Linked DNA regions of Homo sapiens: all the other regions are linked to region 1. The links are contacts of gene promoters, found by promoter capture Hi-C in blood cells and fetal thymus (Javierre and others, 2016). All regions are on one chromosome and are shown on one strand. The core of a region is centred on a gene start or on the middle of the fragment in contact, and the rest is flanking DNA. Distances in the headings are between cores, read along the strand shown.

Evidence for each region. Contacts are between HindIII fragments. The CHiCAGO score rates a contact against its expected background, and 5 or more counts as called.
Region 2: a contact is called between a fragment that was not itself captured here and the fragment with the promoter of EFR3A in region 1, in 2 of 17 cell types (fetal thymus and activated CD4 T cells). The highest score is 8.2, in fetal thymus.
Region 3: a contact is called between a fragment that was not itself captured here and the fragment with the promoter of EFR3A in region 1, in 1 of 17 cell types (total CD8 T cells). The highest score is 5.6, in total CD8 T cells.

Annotation. Positions count from the first base shown.
Region 1 is chr8:131,902,490-131,905,501 of GRCh38, forward strand. It overlaps EFR3A (EFR3 homolog A), which reads left to right and starts at 1,604. Exons shown (of 23, transcript NM_015137.6): 1 at 1,604-1,833. The coding sequence starts at 1,824. RefSeq lists a silencer at 1,501-1,980 and an enhancer at 2,551-2,600. The HindIII fragment of the contact is 8,534 bases long and covers 1-3,012 here.
Region 2 is chr8:134,827,152-134,830,163 of GRCh38, forward strand. It overlaps a transcript of ZFAT not described here. Among named protein-coding and RNA genes, the nearest start is that of NCRNA00250, 9.4 kb to the right of the region's middle. The HindIII fragment of the contact is 4,725 bases long and covers 1-3,012 here.
Region 3 is chr8:134,707,746-134,710,757 of GRCh38, forward strand. The region is part of intron 1 of ZFAT (zinc finger and AT-hook domain containing); the gene reads right to left. Among named protein-coding and RNA genes, the nearest start is that of ZFAT, 3.8 kb to the right of the region's middle. RefSeq lists an enhancer at 1,683-2,366. The HindIII fragment of the contact is 6,003 bases long and covers 1-3,012 here.

The DNA of each region.
Region 1 (3,012 bases), core at 354-2,853:
ATTTTCTGAAAAGCAAATAGGCCCATGGTAAAACACAAGCACTCATGACAGTTTATTTAGGATGCAGTGAGAAAAGTGCTGTAGCAGAGAGGAATCAAGATAATGCCAAAGTCTTAGGGAGAAAACTGGAAGCATGAAAGATTTTATAGGTGATAAAATATGCAACAGGGCATTAAAACATGAATAAGCACTAGGTAGTTTGGTCTTTACTGTTAGCAAGGGACAGTCTCTCTTTTTTTTTTTTTTTTTTTGAGATGGAGTCTTGCTCTGTAGCCCAGGCTAGAGTCCAGTGGCCCGATCTCGGCTCACTGCAAACTCCGTCTCCTGGGTTCAAGCGATTCTCCTTCCTCAGCTTCCCAAGTAGCTGAGTGAGAATATAGGCATGTGCCACCACCCCCGCCTAATTTTTGCATTTTCAGTACAGACAGGGTTTCGCCATGTTGGCCAGGCTGATCTCGAACTCCTGACCTCAGGTGATCTGCCCACCGCCCACCTCGGTCTCCCAAAGTGTTAGGATTACAGGCGTGAGCCACCGTTCCCAGCTGGACAGTCTCTTTTATAGGTACAGTACACACTCTCCTCTCCCCAGCTGCCATGACTCACTCTAAATTACCCTTCATCCTCTCCCCAGCCTCTTTTAGGACTCCCCTAGGCTTTGCTAATTCAAATTCTGCTTTCTTCCAAGTCCACCTCAAGCCAAGACTAATTTCTCCTCAGCGCTTCCTAGCTCTGATCTTCATGTTCTTCATCTTCTCCTCCCAGTACTGCACAATATCATTTCTTAATCAGAAGGTTAGCCCTACTTTTTAGGACAAAGGTTCTCAGTATTATCATTGTATTTAAATCATCTGTATATGTGTTCGTAGATTTGGCTCAGCACCTAGGAATCTGCTTTTCAACAAGTCCCCAGGGGATCCAAGCACAAAAGGATCCTGGACCACTTTGACCCACTTTGAGGAAGGCTGTGTTAAACCTCTGCGGTTGGCTTTTATATCTCCATATGGGCTGTCCGCAGCCCACGGCGCCTAGCATAGTGTAGGTGCGTTGCTCAGCTCTCTGGCTCCCGGTGTCTGCTCAGCTTGGTGACTATTAGATACCTCAATTATTAATGACACCCAGAGTCAAGAAGAGTAGCTCAGCCAAGTGCACAGAGCTGCCCTCTCCAGAGGAGACTAACTCCTGAGGGATAAGGTCGCTCTGAAAGTCACAAGAGCAAAAGGAAATTACATTTTCTGCCCTCTCAAAAAATGAGCAGCCATCACCCCAAATGACCTTAGTGCATCTCAAATAAACCATGCTTTCAGAGTATGCAAAACGCACTGCAAGTTAAACCGATTGCAAAAGAAAAAGCCCACAGGTACTCCGTGCGCTCAAAGCCATCATCCTCACAAACGTAAAGTGATGCACTCCAAATAGAGATCAAGGAAAACGAATGCCACGCAGGTCACCAGGCTTGGAAAATAGAAGGCACCCGAAGTTGTTCTACGTGGCTGTCCCCAGCCACCCATTCCACCCGCTCGACAAGGGATCCTGGGCCGAGCCCGGCCATCCGCGGGGGCGGGGCCGGGACGGCGGCGGCGCGCTGACGTAACGGGCGTGGGTCGTCCGTCGCGCCGCCCGGCGAGGAGTGGGCTGGCGGCGGTAGCTGTCGCCCGCTTGGTTGCGTGACCGCGGGGTCCGCGTCCGCTCCCTCCACCCTTCGCCCTTCGCCCTTCGCCTCGTTCCGGCCTCCGCGGCCCAGCAACGGCCGTCATGGTGCCGTCGGCGCTCCCTGCGCGGCCCCGCTGAGCCTCGGTGCGGCGGCGAGCGCGGTCGAGATCGCCATGCCTACCCGTGAGTGGCCGGCCGAGGGCCGGGGGCGTTGGGAGGCGACTGCCTGCGCGACGCGCTTGGGCCGGGTACTCCTCCCGGGCGGCTGGGGAGGCTGGGCCGCGCTGAGCAGAGCCAGGAAGTGTCTGCGAGCGGCGGAGTTAGTTTCGTTTCGGCTTAGCCTTCCGGAGATGGCGTGAGCCCGTTGCACGGATCGGGAAACTGAGGCCCGAACGTTAAGGGAACTGCGGGGACGCGCTGTTAGGAGGCGGCAGAGCTGGTGGTAACCTGACCCGTGGGATTTCAAAGTTAAAGCCCTTTTCCCACGGCCACACGGCTTCGTGGGACTTTATGGAAATATTGAAAATAACTGCGGTACCATTGTCAGTCCCTTCTCACCTCGGGCCGGACGTCGCTAGTGGACGCGCCGGCCCCGAGTCCCTTCCCGCGGCCGCCAGACAGACCCCCGACAGCCTAACTCGGCGTCCGTATCGCCGTCGGGGCGGCTGAAGTCGGAGCTTTCTGTGGAGCTTGTTAGGCAGAGGCACCTCGACTGTGGCTTTTGGACCACACTTCGGATTCACCCGGGCAGATGATTAAAAATGCCGGTTTCGGGACCCGCCCTATTCCCATGGAATTAGTCTGGAGCTTGGGCCCCGGAGTCTGCATGTCTAATAAGCGTCCCTGGGGTTACCAAGGCACCCCAAAGTTTAAAAGTCACTCGGTGTTGGAGGATTTTTAGACAGACGCGATACTACAAGTACTGCTAATGACCTATTTTAAAATGACCCAGATAATCGCAGTGTGACTTTATAGCCACTGGTCAATGTGGATATGTGCAAACTAGGGAAGCTCCTGATCTTGGGTAGAGAGGAAGCAACTTTGTCATTGATTTGAGAATTCAAGTAGGACTCCTTTGACTAAGTGTTCAATACTATAGAATCTTTACACACTTGTGAATATATTTCCTAGAATTCATAACTACTTCTAGTTGTCCTTGTTTTGTAGCCATCTGGGACGCTGAATTTCCAGGTCAGTCTCCAATGCACGTTTCGTCTAGTGGTGGGAAAAGATGAGTTATTTCTTGATATTATAAAGATTGATATTTTCCTGATATTTAAGGATATTAAATTTAAATTGATATTAAAGATATTTAAATATCTTTTTGAGATTTAAAGATTTTCCTGTGGCAAATCTTTACAT
Region 2 (3,012 bases), core at 335-2,834, 2.9 Mb after region 1:
AGCGATCCTCCCACCTTAGCCCCACAAGTAGCTGGGACTACAGGCGTGTGCCACCACATCCAGCTAACTGTTTTGTTATTTTTGTAGAGACAGGGTTTCACCAGGCTGGTCTTGAATTCCTGAGCTCAGGCAATCTGCCCATCTCGGCCTCCCAAAGTGCTGGGATTACAAGCATGAGCCACCACGCCTGGCCTGAACTCAGCCTTTCTTATTTTTAAGAACTGTTGCCTACAGTTCTGCAGATCACAAAATCTAAACTTTTTAAAAATCCCATGTAGTGGACATACATATACATATTATTAGATAATATTTTATGCTTAAGAAATCTAGTAAATTGGCTGGGCACGGGCTAACACCTGTAATCCCAGCACTTTGGGGGGCCCAGGAGGGCGGATCACCTGAGGTCAGGAGTTTGAGACCAGCCTGGCCAACATGGTGAAATCCCGTCTCTACTGAAAATACAAAAATTAGACAGGCGTGGTGGTGGGTGCCTGTAATCTCAGCTACTTGGGAGGCTGAGGCAGGAGAATTGCTTGAACCCGGGAGGCGGAGGTTGCATTGAGCCAAAATCGCGCCACTGCACTCCAGCCTGGGTGACAGAGTGAGACTCTGTCTAAAAAAAAAAAAAAAAAAATTCTAGTTAATATTATTTTGAAACCCCAGTTTACATAAAGTATGGTGCACTAATGACTGCATTTTATTGAAAAGAACATTGGGAATAGAAAAATTAAGTGACATTTTAAAAGTGACATTGGCTTAAATAATGAAATTGAGAACATAAATCAGTCTTCACTTCCAATTATAATTTCTAATCATTACCACTAGCCTCACGTATCTTGGCACAAATATTTGTAAACTGCAGTAGTATACTCACCTTTTTTACATGTATTTTTTAAAAATTGTAATTGTGTCCTCATTAATCATAAATCCAATGTAATGTACTTTTTAATCTATGTTCTGAAATTAACAGTCATTTGAGACAGTCCCTTGGGATTTTTTAAAAAATGGAAAACACTTCTTTTAATATCATCTCTTCTTTAATCTTCATTTTTACTCATTTGTTCAATTGAGGAACTAAGAGCCTGTACTAAAAAAATCAATGGCACCATTCAAGCTGTTCCTTCCATTTTTATAATATTCAATTATGCTAAGAGGTATGAAACCGTGCCCAGTATCCCGAAGTTGGGCTTTTGACCCATATTCAGTATTAAAATAATTTCTTGCTTTCTAATGTATAAAAACAAAACAAAATACTATTAAGCATTCTGAAGATATTTTTTACTTCTTGTATGCCCTGATGCTTAGCTCTTATCCTTCAAACCCCTTCTCTAAGAATAAAATTTCTCGAAAACTAGGAAAAGGTGAAGGCGTCACTGTTACCCAAGCCAGGCATGAACAGTATAAATCAAATGAAACTTGATTAGTTATCCTTAATAAAGTTTGCAGCTACTTCCTCCCTTTCCTCCTTATCCCCACATGAAGTACGAACTAACCCACAAATAAGTTCTCCTATTAACTCACATTCCTTTTTTTTCTACATAAGCAAAGCAAAATGATTTCTGAATTAAACTTCCCAAGTACTTCATTCATCATCTCCTGCAATTCCAAATAAACGCAAATGCATTAACACAAAGGGAAAAAACTCCTTTGAAAGAATACATAGTTGTTCTTTTACCAAAATAGCATTTTTCACAAGTGACTCAAACAGAATTACAGCTTAGGAAAATCAAGCCTTTAATTCTGAAGAATAATTTGCACCTACAGAAAATTTCAAGGTAACGGTTTTTACTGCTTGTGGACTTTAGACCAAATCTACTTATTTTGATTTTGCTGAAGTTTGGGTATAACTGCTTGTTGGCCTCTGCTGGGGGACCACTGTCCTAGTGAGAGTGTCTGACAACAAGGTGCTTTTGATACTCCACTAACTAAACTACCTTGGATGAGGTTCCTGACAAACCTGATCATAAAGTTTTACTCAATGGTGAAAAGCATTTTAATTAGGCTTCAATGTACTCCTTAAATCAGGCTTGTCCAACCCATGGCCCAGGACAGCTTTGAATGAGGCCCAACACAAATGTGTAAACTTTCTAAAAATATGAAATTTTTGTTGCAATTTTTTAAGCTCATTAGTTATTGTTAATGCATTTGATGTGTGGCCCAAGACAATTCTTCTTCTTCCAACGTGGCCCGGGGAGGCCAAAAGATTGGACACCGCTGCCTTAAATGATATGGGATAAATCAGATGACAATTTTCCCACTCAGTTAAACCATTATAGGTGGCATATAAGTGGAACAACACTGAATTTAACTTTGTCCCCAAATACTTTTGGTAAAGAGAGAACTCAAAGAACACACTGATAACCCTTACATATGCCAAAAATCTGTTCCTAAATTGTTGTATGCCAACTGATTATTCACAAATCAAATCACATTAGATAAATACCATTTAAAGGGATTAAGTATTTGAAAACAACTTTTAGTGAATCCCTTTTTTAAAATTCTCACATAATATAACCAACTAGTAATTAATTTGTTTTGCAATCTTACACTTTTAAATGTCAAATTTCTTAAAGTAGAGCACAGCTGTTTTCATAAGCTGAAACATTCACATCACATTACTGCCCTTCTTTCTAGTGCCCCTCAAGCAAGCTCTAAAAATGTCACCCAAAAAATGAGTTGTTCACCTGTGGTAGAATATACAAGAAATACTAGAAAAATTGAAAAATAAGCAATTCTTAAAAATGTAATATAGAAATGTGTGTATAGTATTTCAAAAAAAGTCAAAGAATTATTTTATTTTTGGCCATGATCACAATAAACGCTCGATAAAAATGATTTTTTAAAAAACCAAGATACGCACAGCCCAAATCACTTTCCCATGTGTTTTTACCACCTGGAGTAAACCGTTCAAGAACTGTTTATCTCCATGAACATATGACCTCCACGATGCCACCAAGGTCAACAAGACCTACAGGAGGGGGACATGCTAAGTGTTGATTTGTCCAATTCTAC
Region 3 (3,012 bases), core at 317-2,816, 2.8 Mb after region 1:
TCCCTACCCCACCCATCCTGCCTTGATCAGACTGTGTTGAACACAAAGGCATCCGATTCCAGAGTTCCACCTTTTGCAGCTCCATGTATTACATGATTTAAAATAACTCAAAAGATTTGAAACCAGTATATTGAAAGGAATGACTGAACCATGTTCACTGTTGTGCTATTCACAATAGTCAAGTATGGAATCGGCCTCAGTGGCCAACAACACATGAATGATTTTTTTAATGTGGGACATATACACAACGGAATATTATTCAGCTGTAAAAAAGAAATGTTGTCGTTTGTGACAACATGGATGAAACTGGAGAACACTGTCCTAAGTAAAATATGCCAGCACAGAAGGACAAACACTGCATGTTTTCTCTTACATGTGAACTCTAAAACAATGGAGCTCAAAGAAGCAGAGAGTAGAATGGTGGGTACCAGAGCCTGAAGGTGTAGGAAGAAATGATGATCAAAGGCTACAAAGCCTCAATTAGACAAGAGGAATCGTTTTTTTCTTTGAGACATATTGCACAGCATGGTGAATACAGTAATAACGTACATTTCAAATTTGCTAAGAGTAAATTTTAAATGTTTACTTACCACAAAATGATAACTATTTGAGCTGATGGATATGTTAATTAGCTTGATTTAATTATTCCACATTATACTCATAAATCATAACATCACATTATACCCCGTAAAGAAACAAATATGTCGTTACAGTTTTTTTAATTTAAAAAAAGATTATGTTACCCAATTTTAAGTCCGTGTTTTTCTATAAATATGCCAAGCATTATCTTTATAAGTAAACTCAATCATCTATATATTTTGTGTTCCTTGAAAAAAAAGGAGGCAACTTTAAATCTGTAAGATGTTTAAAATGTCTATTTTGTTTTGCTCTGCTTTTTCTTTTCTCTTTTAAAAAAAAATTACTCGGCCAGGCACAGCGGCTCACGTCTGTAATACTGGCACTTTGGGAGGCTGAGGCAGGCGGATCACCTGAGGTCAGGAGTTGGAAACCAGCCTGACCAACATGGTGAAACCCCACCTCTACTAAAAGTACAAAATTAGCGAGGCGTGGTGGCGCATGCTTATAATCCCAGCTACTTGGGAGGCTGAGGCAGGAGAATCGCTTGAGCCCAGAAGGCAGAGGTTGCAGTGAGCCAAGATCACACCATTGTGCTCCAGACTGGGCAAAGAGCAAAACTCCGTGCCAATAAATTAATTTAATTTAATTTTTAAAAATGACTTATTTAAAAAAAATTACTCGGCTGGGCACAGTGACTCAAGCCTATAATCCTAGCATTTCAGGAGGCCGAGGCCAGTGGATCTCTTAGGCTGAGTTCAATACCAGCCTGGTCAACCTGGTGACACCCCATCTCTACAAAAAATACAAAAATTAGCCAGGTGTGGTGGTGCACCCCTGTAGTCCCAGCTATTCAGGAGGCTGATGTGGGAGGGTGGCCTGAGCCTGGGAGTCTCTGCCTTTCCATCCACAAATGCTTTCAAGAAGAGAGTGGATGACAATGTACTGAGCTGTACACTGGGAAGTCTGGTTCTGGGAAGGGAAGAGACAAACCCCATTTCCTGAATGCCATCAGCAGCCACCTGTGGCAGGACTGTGTCTCCTTTGCCGGTGAAGGGACTGGGGTCCCAAGGGTTCTGTGACTTCCCTTAGGTCAGGAATCTGGTGAGAGGCAGATCTCTGGAGCCAGAGCACGTGCTCTTTCTACCCTCCTAAATGTTCCAGCCCTTAAAGTTGATGCCTGCCCTTGAGAAATTGCAAATCAGTGAAACTTTAACAGGGTAAACAGCTGAGAAGAGAGGGAAAACTTAACTCTAGGCTAAATCTCTTTTACGTAATTAAATCAGCCCATCTTGGTGCAGAGTTTTTCAGAGGCTGTATGCTTGAAACTATCTACAAAGGGAAATGCAATTAAGGAGACTTTTTAATATATCTGATTCTTGACTGCCCTTGCTCTAGGCAAGAGCTTAATTCTACTTAACAATAGCTATCTTGCAAAAGTTATGTAAATTGCAAGGTATGGGGAGAAAAGAAACAGGAATCCTTTCACCGGAGGCAAATGAGAAGCCCACTGAGAAGGGAGCACTGCGGTAAGACGGCTCCAATTCACACAATGACCATCTCAGCTCATTTGCCACCTACAGCTGTGCCCTGTAGACCACATGCAACTCCACCTCCTTATCATTCATTGTACTCCCTTTCCTAAATTAACCAAAACAGGAAACTCTTTTCAGAAATTAGCTGACCATGAGTTGACAGTAACACATTTTAAAATATGATCTTTTCTCATTTGGTACAGCTGGAAATTGAAGGAAACTTCAACATATGTCCAGGGTTCTTTTTTAAAACTCTTGGGTAAATTCCAGAAGTGGAGAAGTGGGCAACTCATTCTCTCTATATAAGCAACAACGTGGGAGGAGGAAGGCACCAATCGAAAAGATATTTCACGTTTATCAAAATGGAGTCACTCATGTCAAACTCTAACAAAATGGAGCCAGAGGATAGGAAGGAAGGGCCCTCATGCAAGTATGCCTATGACAGGAACTATGCCAGGAATTCCTTAGAGCCTGTTACTTGCACAGGACACTTGCCTGGTGCACCTGTCTCCAATGGACTAATGCCAGCTCCTGCAATAAACCTCTGAAACCAATGGTCTTTGTTTCAAAACCGCTTAGGTGGACTTCCCTTTTGGGTCTTTAAAAGTTTCCATTTGCCCCAACTTCTTTGGACGTACCTATGATCCAGCATAGCGCATGTATCTAAATTGCAATCCCCTATTATTCCCAAATAAACTACAGTTTCAGGATCCCATATCCAAAATGCTTGGGACCAGAAGTTTTAGAATTCCAGATGTTTTTGGATTTTGGAATATTTGCATATACATAGTGAGATAACCTGAGGATGGGACCCAAGTCTAAACATGAAATTTATTTATGTTTGATGTGCACCTTATACACACAGTCTGAAGGTAATTTTACAATATTTTTAATTTTGATC